2 separate regions of the Homo sapiens genome follow, and region 1 is linked to region 2. The links are contacts of gene promoters, found by promoter capture Hi-C in blood cells and fetal thymus (Javierre and others, 2016). All regions are on one chromosome and are shown on one strand. Each heading gives the region's core, a stretch centred on a gene start or on the middle of the fragment in contact. The rest is flanking DNA. Distances are from core to core; before and after follow the strand shown. Region 1 has its middle 16 kb from the start of MFSD6L. Region 2 holds the start of ODF4 (outer dense fiber of sperm tails 4).

Evidence for each region. Contacts are between HindIII fragments. The CHiCAGO score rates a contact against its expected background, and 5 or more counts as called.
Region 1: a fragment that was not itself captured here is called in contact with the fragment with the promoter of ODF4 in region 2 in 1 of 17 cell types (erythroblasts); the score reaches 5.3 in erythroblasts.

Annotation. Positions count from the first base shown.
Region 1 is chr17:8,781,025-8,786,349 of GRCh38, forward strand. No RefSeq gene overlaps it. Among named protein-coding and RNA genes, the nearest start is that of MFSD6L, 16 kb to the right of the region's middle. The HindIII fragment of the contact is 3,324 bases long and covers 783-4,106 here.
Region 2 is chr17:8,337,418-8,342,557 of GRCh38, forward strand. It overlaps ODF4 (outer dense fiber of sperm tails 4), which reads left to right and starts at 2,423. Exons shown (of 3, transcript NM_153007.5): 1 at 2,423-3,088. The coding sequence starts at 2,635. It overlaps LOC124903916 (a long non-coding RNA gene), which reads left to right and starts at 640. Exons shown (of 2, transcript XR_007065607.1): 1 at 640-874; 2 at 1,006-1,341. The HindIII fragment of the contact is 6,182 bases long and covers 1,323-5,140 here.

The DNA of each region.
Region 1 (5,325 bases), core at 1,195-3,694, 440 kb after region 2:
CAAATCCCTCCAAATTAATGTACGAATTCAATGCAGTTCCAATAAAATTTCCAGAATTTTTTTGGGGGAAAGTGAAACACTTACTGTAAAATTTATAAGGGAGAATAAAGCCTAAAAAAGAAGAGTAAAGAGGAAAGACTCACCTTACCAAATATTGAGACATTACAAAGCCAAGTGCTAACTGTGATATTAGTGTGATATTAGTGCAGGGACAAATAGATTAATAAAACTAGAGAACTCAAAAGCAGACTTAAGTATAAAGATGTAGTGCCAGAAATCATAGAGGAAGAGTGGATTATTTAGTCTATAGCATTTTGAAAACTGGCTAAGTGGAGAAATATAAAGGTGGGTCCCTATCTTAAGTCTATTCAAAAGAAATTCCAAATGAATTAAAGACCTAAAATGAGAGTTTAAAATTAAAAGCTAATATGGAAAATGTAGTATCTTTTTAACTTGGAAGTGGGGGGGGTAGCAAGAGAGATTCTTATTTTATTTTATTTTTCTCCCTAGAATCCTTGTAGCAAGAGAGATTCTTAAGATCCTCAAGATAAATTGTAATGGGAAAATAAAAAACTTTGATTACATCAAAATAAGATTTTCTGTTCAAAAAAATATACCAAAGTTAACAAATGAGTGACAGACTGGGCAAAGATATTTCCGAAATGAAAATCAGCAAAGGATTAATATCTAGATTATACAACACACTTCTGCAAAACCACATGAAAAAAGACAAGAAACAGAACAAAAACTGGGCAAAGGATATTGTGGAAATATGAGTTTTAAGCTTCAAACACTTTGATTTGACTTTGGTTAAAATTGAGTTGGAACCAAAGGTCACGATCACAACTAGAAAACCCTCAGAGGTTAACACTTTTGAAAATGCAGAACTTTTAGTTTGTGGTCTGGCATGTTAAGAAACTTGGAAGTAACCACTCTGTCCTAACAAGTAAAAAGCTGAAAAAACTGGAAAATCAACAACTCTTCTTAGATCTGTGAGACAAGTGATGTCACAGGATAAACCAGTGCTCCCAAGATTGGAGAGACAGAGAGGTGAATACAGAGAATCAAAACATACGGAAGCAGAAACTCACAAGTAGAAACCGGCATTGTACTTGATGAGTTGCTGGAGGCTCGGCATGGACAAGTCTGAGAGATAAATATTCCAGGGGTACCCAGGCATAAGGGGGTCCCTACACTCTGGTGAATTTTACCTCCTGGAGCTCTACCAGGTTCTCACAGTGAATAATTTGAGAAAATTTCCCTCATGCTTCCATCCTGGGGATGGGAAAAGAAGCTATTTGGAAATACCAATGCATTCCATTCTTTTCAACAAAGCCTTCCTCTAGGAGAAACTATTTAACCAGTCTAACCTGCTGGGTTTTTATCAGAGCGTAATTAACTTAGGGGAAGGAAAATATCCAATTCCAACCAGCTGTAGCTTCCACATGGAGGAAGGGAAATACTCAACTCTAATTTCCTCCAACCTTCCATGTGGGAGAAGGAAAACCCTAATTCCAGTTCACTCTAACCATCCTAGTTTACCTAAGGGGAGAGGGGAGCAACTGAGAAGCACGTCTGAAGTTCACAGTCTAGGGGCATAGGCTTACTAAAAGACTGAGGCCTACTCATAGGACTATAGAATGCTCTTCTTCCCCCACACCTTACCACCACATTACTAAAGGCTTATGAACAGAAGTTTCTTTTACCCAGTACATTATGTCTGGGGAAAACAAATTACAGGGCATACTAAAAGGCAAAAACAAAATATAGAGACAGAGAAAGCATCAGAATCTGACTCATGTGACAGGGATGTTGGAATTATCAGATCAGGAATTTAACCCAAATATAATTAATATGCTAAGCGTTCTAATGGATAAAGCAGATAACATGCAAGAACAGATGGGCAATTTAAACAAAGAGATAGAAATTCTAAGACAGAACCAAAAACATACACTAGGGATCAAAAACACTGTAATAGAAATAAAGACCACCCAGATAGGCTCATTAGTATACTGGACACAGCTGAGGAAAGAAACGCTGAGCTTGAGGATATCTCAAAAGAAACTTCCAAAACTGAAAAGCAAAGTGCAAGGCCGGGTGCGGTGGCTCACGCCTGTAGTCCCAGCACTTTGGGAGGCTGAGGTGGGTGGATCACGAGGTCAGGAGTTCCAGACCAGCCTGGCCAAGATGGTGAAACCCTGTCTCTACTAAAAATACAAAAATTAGCTGGGCGTGCTGGCAGGTGCCTGTAATCACAGCTACTTGGGAGGCTTGAGGCAGGAGAATCATTTGAACCCGGGCAGCAGAGGTTGCAGTGAGCCAAGATTGCACCACTGCACTCCAGCCTGGGTGAAAGAGCGAGACCGCATCTCAAAAAAAAAAAAAAAAAAAAAAAGCAAAGTGCAAAGAGACTAAAAAAGAAAAACCAAACAGAGCATCCTAGGACTGTGGGATAGCTACAAAAGCTATTCATATAAATACATGTAATGAGAATACAGGAGAAGAAAAAAAGAAAAGAACAGAGGAAACATTTGAAACCTTTTAAAGGCTGAATGATATTCCTTTGTATGTATATACCACACTTTTTATCCATTCATCTGTTGATAGGCACTTGGGTTACTTCCACATTTTGGCTACTGTGAATAATCCTGCTATGAACATGCATGTACAAATATCTCTTCAAGACCTTGCCTTCCATTCTTTTGGGTATATATTCAGGAATGGGAATGCTAGATCATATGGTAATTCTATTTTTAATTTTTTTTAGCAAGAACCCTACAGTTTTCTATAGTGGTTGCACTATTTTACTTTCCCATCAACAGTTCATAGTGTTCTAATTTCTCCATCCTTGTCAACACTTATTATTATTATTATTATTTTTTGAGACACAGTTTCATTCCGTCACCCAGGCTGGAGTGCAGTGGTCCAATCTCTGCTCACTGCAAACTCTGCCTCCTAGGTTCAAGTGATTCTGCTGCCTCAGCCTCCTGAGTAGCTGGGATTACAGGTGTGTGCCACCAGGCCCAGCTAATTTTTGTATTATTAGTAAAGACTGGGTTTCACCATGTTGGCCAGGTGAACTCCTGACCTCAAGGGATCAGCCCAACTTGGCCTCCCAAAGTGCTGGGATTACAAGCCAGCCACAGTGCCTGGCCTGTTTTTTTTTTGTTGTTGTTGTTCGTTTTTTGTTTGTTTTTCATAGCAGCCATCCTAATGAGTGTGAGAGATGGTATCTCATTGTGGTTTTGGTTTGCATGTCCCTAATGATTAGTGATGTTGGGCATCTTTTCATGAGCTTGCTGGTCTTTTGTATATTTTCTTTAGAGAAATGTCTATTTAAGTACTTTGCCCATTTAAAAATCAGGTTGTTTGTTTTTTTGTTGTTGAGTTTTAAGAGTTCTTCATATATTCTGCATATTAACACCTTATCAGATGTATGATTTGCTAATATTTTCTCCCATTCCATAGGTTGCCTCTTCACTTCTGTTGATTTTGTCCTTTGATGCTAGACCTTTGTCATCCACATCTTTGTCATCCACATCTGAACCCCATCTCTCGTTTCCATTGGTGGTAGTCGTGGTGGTGGTGGGCCTCAGTATGACTGCAGTAATGGTACCTGGTGCGTCTTCTTTCCAAGACTGCCCTTACTTAGTTTCTTTTGTTTGCAATGAGACAAAGATTTCTGAGCACCAAATGACAAAGAAGAGTTAAGTTTTTAAAAGCAATTGTTTTCTTCTTGAAATGTTTCTTTAGTTCCTGTTCAAGACAATGCTAAGCAAAATTCAGATATCACCACACAACCTCTGGTCTTCTGTGGAAGGCAAGACTTCTTCAAATATCCAAACACCTTGAGCCCCTGAGTTGGTCTGACTCGCTAGTCCCAGGGACAGACACAGTGAGGTTTATTTGCTGCTGACAGCCAAGCTCCAAGGCAAGATGGGACAGCTATTGTCATGGGGGGAGACATTCAGATCCCTCTTATGACTTGCCATAAAAATGATGGGCCTCTGGTGGGATCCATTCCCAACTCTCTTACCTCATTTCAGGTAGGTTCAGTGGTGACATCCAATCATAGCTCTCTTACCTAACTCACCTCTCCAAGGGCAAGCTTCTCACTATTCTCTAATCAAAATTTAGAAAACCTGCCAGTACAACCTTGGAGAAGAGGGGCTTTAGCCAAAAGCAGGTGCTATATTCTCTCCTTCCTGGAAGTGTCATCTCTTTTCTGGGCTAAGAGCACACAGATTTTGATGTAATTTGCCAAGAACAATAGGAAGAAGCACTGTTTCTGGATGCCACATGCTTCCTGAAAGAGGAAAATTGTAACATGTTGATATGATAGTGGAGGGTCTTGGAATTTTCTTGGAATCTTCTCATCTCTTCCATGGTGACAGAGATCCAGTGAGTGCCTGGTGAGATAGGACTTATTTGTAAATCCTTGTGAGCCTCTCTCTGCAGGCACTGGAATATACACTGATGAGATTTGGGCAGCCAGGCTTGGAAGGGGATGGGGCTGAGGAGCAGGAGGTGAGGGTCTGTGAAATTGGTTTTATTATTGTGACTCTGACCTCAGGTGGTCCCTCGGCAGCCCTAGGAAACTCAAAAAGTACATGCAGCTATTTATCCTGTTTCTTCACATTTACACTGATCAAGACAAAAGTAGCATCAGGGTCGTCCATATCCTCAGGAAAGGCTGCCAGAGGCTGTCTGGGCTGGCCAGGCTGATCTGCCAATTCCACTGGAAGCCTTTGCAGCTGCTCCCTTTTCCCAGACCCTGGCCTCGCCTCCTGTCTCTCACAAAGCCAGCTCAGCAGCAGCACCTGATCCTCGGGGTTTTCTGTAATTCCAAGCTCCAAGAACTAAAGGGCCTTCAGGTTGCCGGCCTCATCCTGAGCTGCAGCTTTGGGAAGGGAATAGGGACCAGGTTTGCCCAATGAAGAGGGACGCTAGTTTTCCCTTGTGTTTGGCGCTCCCTGGTGGAGAGCTTCGGAACCCCTGGTCGAATCCTCTCCCTTCCTGTCCCGGTTTGCTTTCAGAAGTCCTCTTCAGTCCCCGCTTACAGCCATTCCACCCCCGTGTGGAGGCAGAAAATAGCTTTCCAGTCCCAAGAGCGTGGCCTGCCCCTTGCAAAGGGCAGAGGGGATGCAAGTGTCCAAAACTGCAGCCTATGGGGGTCGACATGAACAAAGCTAAAGGGAACGTTGAGTGCCAATAGGAAGGTGCCCCGCCCTGAAGGTGCCTACCCAGACCTCTGCCTTCCGCAGTAGCCCCCCATGCTGCAGGCCTCGACCAGACACCAAGTTCCAGTCACCACAGATTGCCCCC
Region 2 (5,140 bases), core at 1,173-3,672:
TGACTGACATGGTGAAATCCTGTCTCTACAAAATACAAAACATTAGCTGGGCGTGGTGGCTCATTCCTGTAATCCCAGCTACTTGGGAGGCTGAGGCAGGAGAATTGCTTGAACCCAGGAGGCGGAAGTTGCAGTTAGCTGACCAAGATGGCGCCATTGCACTCTAGCCTGGGCAACAAGAGTGAAATCCCATCTCAAAAAAAAAAAAAAAAAAAGGCGGGGAAGACCCATTTTTCATACCTTTGCCTGTTGGACCCCAAAGCCTATGTTCTTTTTTTTTAGACAGAGACTCCTTCTGGCCTGAGTGATGAAGGAAGACTGTCTCAATAAATAAATACATAAATAAATAAAATTATAACAATCTCAGAAGGCATGACACCTCTAGGACCCATTCTCATCCTACATCCTCCTCTTTCTGGTGCTGAGAAAAAAAAGAAAGGAAAAAGAAAAGTCAAAAGAAGAGGGAAGGAACTGGTGGTGATTGACTAGCAGTGAGTAGAGCTGGGAGGGAGGTGAAGGGTTGGGGAAAGCAATGGGAAGCTCGATGACATCTTTGCAAGACATGTCCAAAGAACAATGGAGGGAGGATCTTTTCCTGGGGATAAGCTCCTGCTCCCTCCCCCTGCTCCATCAGTGAGCATTTGGGGTTGGGGTTAGGGCAGAGGAACTAGGAAGAGAAAAGGGGACTGTCCTAGTCCATTTTGTGTTGCTATAACAGAATACCTGAGGGTGAATAATTTATAAAGAAAAAAGGGCTATTTGGCTCACAATTCTGATGGCCAGAAAGCTCAAGATTGGGCATCTGTTGAGGACGTCAGGCTGCTTTCACTTATGGTGGAGGCAAGGGGGAGCTGGCTTGTGCAGAGATCACAAGGTAAGGGAGGAGCTGAAACTGTGCCCCAAACAGTTAAATAAACCAGTGATTAACAGACATTTTCGAGTTTACAGGATGGCAGCTAAGAAACAGCTTGCTGAAATGCTGAAAAATCCCTTTGCTTATAACAGGACTGGCTGAAATCAGTGGGAACCCGTATGGCTGACAGCAATCCGCACAGAACGAGCTTGCTGATGTCACAGCCTGAATTTCCACCTGCTGTTTCATACTAACGCCACCAAATTTGCACATGCAACCCACGAAGAACCTTGGAGATAACCAGACATGATTAAGGACTTTCTAGACTTCTCCTTTCTTTCCACCAATCACCCGCTAATCCCAGAATCCTCCCCCTAAACCTTTTCTAATAAAAGTACTGCCTTAAGACCAGCAAAGAGAGACAGATTTGAGCTGGATTCCCGTATCCTCGTGGGTCAGCTCACAATAAAGCTTTCCTTTTCTCAAAACCTAGTGCCCTAGTATTGGAGTATTGGCTTCTATGCACATCTGGCAGCGAGCACTTTTGCTTGGTAACAGCGCCAGGTTCTTTTTAACAACCAGCTATTGCGGGGAGCTAATGGAGTGAGGTCTCAGGGAAGGCGTTAATCCAATCACAAGGCATCTGCCCCCATGACCCAAACACCACCCACTAGGCCCTCTCACCTCCCATCACCACCACACTGGGGAGCAAATTTCAGCATGAGGTTTGGTGAAGACAAATTAACCATATGCAGACCACAGGAGGGCCTCTCACATACCATTGCTCATATGTAAAGGGAGGCAGAAGCTGGAGGGAGGTGTCAGATCCACAGTTCTGAGCTGTGGCCTGAGAAACAGGATTTCCGGAAAGAGTTAGAGCTGGAGCCACAGGCCAGGCAAGGTGGCTCACACCTGTAATCCCAGTGCTTTGGGAGGCCAAGTGGGGAGGATCTCATGAGGCCAGGAGTTTTTTTTTTTTTTTTTTGAGGCTGAGTTTCACTCTTGTTGCCCAGGCTGGAGTGCAATGGTGCGATCTCGGCTCACCGCAACCTCCGCCTCCCAGGTTCAAGCAATTCTCCTGCCTCAGCCTCCTGAGTAGCTGGGACTACAGGCATGTGCTACCACGCCCAGCTAATTTTGTATTTTTAGTAGAGATGGGGTTTCTCCATGTTGGTCAAGATGGTCTCGAACTCCCGACCTCAGGTGATCCACCCACCTCGGCCTCCCAAAGTGCAGTGATTACAGGCGTGAGCCACCGTGCCTGGCAGAGGCCAGGAGTTTGAGACCAGGCTGGGTAACATATCAAGACCCCATCTCTACAAACAATTGAAAAATTAGCCAGGCATGCTGGCACAATCCTGTAATCCCAGCTACTCAGGAGGCTGAGGTGGGAGGATCACTTGAACCCAGGAGTTCAAGGTTGCAGTGAGCCAAGGTTGTGCCACTGCATCCCAGCCTGGGCAATAGAGGGAGACCCTGTCTCTCTCTCTAAAAAAAAAAAAAAAAAAAAAAAAAATTGCTGAAGACTTGGCTTCCCTCCCCCATCTCACTGTGCCCCAGGAAAATTCCGTGGCAGTTAGGGGACCTGGCCTGCTGAATGGGTTGGGGCCTTCTCTTGGATCAAGAGTCTCTTATTTGATCGAGGTCTGTTATTAGACTTCCTCATTCTTTCTCAGACCTCAGGCTGCATGGTGGCAGCTGATGAAAATATCCAAAAGATGAGAAGAGACAATTGAGTCTGGTGAGGGAAAGGGGAGACAGAGGGTGAAGTGGTGCTCAAGATGGATGCAGAGTACTCTGGGAATGAGTTCCCCAGGTCAGAAGGAGAAAGAGACCAACATCAGAGACCTGGAAAGGAAAGGAAGAGTGGGGAGGCAGGATGGGGCACAGGTGAGCTGGGACAAGATGGGAGACTGCTGTCCTCCACCCTCTCCCTCAGTAGTAACAGGTCCTTGGGCCAGCGCCAGAACTCTCCGCTGCCCTTTCAATGGAGAATCACACACAGCTTCCGCTGGATGGCCCAGGTGTTGGCCTCTGAGCTCAGCCTGGTTGCCTTTATCCTACTATTGGTCGTGGCCTTCTCCAAGAAATGGCTGGACCTCTCTAGGAGCCTCTTCTACCAGCGCTGGCCCGTGGATGTCAGCAACAGAATCCACACATCAGCCCACGTTATGTCCATGGGGCTCCTGCACTTTTACAAATCCAGGAGCTGTTCTGACTTAGAGAATGGGAAAGGTGAGCCCCTCCACCCCCCATCCCAGCCCAGGCCGCCAGCCTGTCTTGGCCTCTGTATCTGCACCCTGGATGTATTCTTGTTCCCTCTTTCTGGTCATCTTTACTTTTTGGCCTGCAAGATGGTTCCACTGGCACTGAGACCTCCGATGATCGTTTCTCATCCTGTAGCCTGGCTAAATAGATTTGATTGGTGCAATGGAAAATGTCACTGCTTTTGATAAAACCCAGAGCCAAATCTGTGCTTCTAAGAATGCTGTGAGAGAGTTGGGCATGGTGCTGCACACCTGTAGTCTCAGCTATCCAGGAGGCTGAGGTGGGAGGATTGCTTGGGCCCAAGAATTTGAGTCCAGCCTGGGCAATTTAGTGAGACTCCTGTCTCAAAAAAAAAAAAAAAAAAATCAGGCTGGGCACTGCGTCTCACACCTGTAATCCCAGCACTTTGGGAGGCCAAAGCAGGCAGATCACCTAAGGTTGGGAGATCGAGACCATCCTGGCTAACATAGTGAAACCCCGTCTCTACTAAAAATACAAAAAATTAGCCAGGCGTGGTGGCACATGCCCGTAATCCCAGCTACTCTGGAGACTGAGGCAGGAGAATTGCTTGAACCCGGGAGGTGGAGGTTGCGGTGAGCCGAGACCGCACCATTGCACTCCAGCCTGGGCAACAAGAGTAAAACTCTGTCTCAAAAAAAAAAAAAAGTTACGAGGGGCATGGACTCAGCACAAGAGAATCATTCATTAATCGCCTAATTTACCAGGGACAAGAGCCCCAGTGAGATGGGGGTTTCCTTAGTCTTGTGTACCCAGAGCTTTGAGAGGACTCCTTGCAATGTCCCCTCTCAGGCCCTGATCCCACACATTCTCCTTTCCTTCTGCCTCAGGCCTTGCTTTTCTGGATCATTTTCCTTTTTCCACATCTGGCTTCTGTGTTCCTTCTTTCCCTGAATTCTTGCAGCTGCTTCATTCCTCATCCTTGTTTTTTTCTGTTTGTTTCGCTGATTTTTTTAGAGACAAGGTCTCACTCTGTCACCCAGGCTGGAGTACAGTGGTGCAATCATAGCTCACTGCAGCCTCGAACTTCCAGGCTCAAGGGATCCTCCTGCTTTAACTTCCGGAGAAGCTCAGACTACAGGCCGTGGCCACCACACCTGGTTCTTATTGTTGTTAGTCTCTGGTTATGCTGTTCCCTCACCCCTCAGGAATTTGGAGTTCTTTCCCTGCTCCTGGGGAAAACCAGAGCTTTTGACCCTTATTTCCATTTTTTCACTCTCCTTAGCATGAAAAAAATCACACAGCTATTATTTTCTGAAAGTATTATGTCCTTATCATATGAATATGAAAATATTCATATAATGAATTATGAAAGCATTATGAAAATATTATGTCCTTATTATAATAAATTTGGGGAAACAAAAGCTATCCTTTATTGTACACTTACTCCATTTGTTCAATTTAGTCCTTAGTCAATCCTAAGGGATAGGGATAATTATCCCTATTTTAGAGATGAGAAAATTGGGACTCAGAGAGATTAAGTACCTTGCTCAGGGTCATAAAGCTATTTAGATTGAACCAAATGACATGCTAATATTTGACTGCTTTTCACCTACAAAAGGAGAATTTCACATGGATCAACCTAATAATGGCAGGGTTGGAATTGCAACTCAGGTGTGCCTGGCTCTAAAACTCACATAGGCGCCTTGCTCTACGGAGTTACTCAAAGACAGCCAGGCTTTTTATTTTTATTTATTTATTTATTTGAGACAGAGTCTTGCTTTGTTGCCCAGGCTGGAATGCAGTTGCGGTCTCAGGTCACTGCAACCTCTGCCTCCCGGTTTCAAGCGATTATCCTGCCTCAGCCTCCCAAGTAGATGGGATTACAGGCGCCCACCACCATGCCCAGCTAATTTTTGTATTTTTAGTAGAGACGGAGTTTCACCATGTTGGCCAGGCTGGTTTTGAACTCCTGACCTCAGATGATCCGCCTGCCTCGGCCTCCCAAAGTGCCTCGGCTCACGGATTACAGGCGTGAGCCACCGCATCCGGCCAAACATC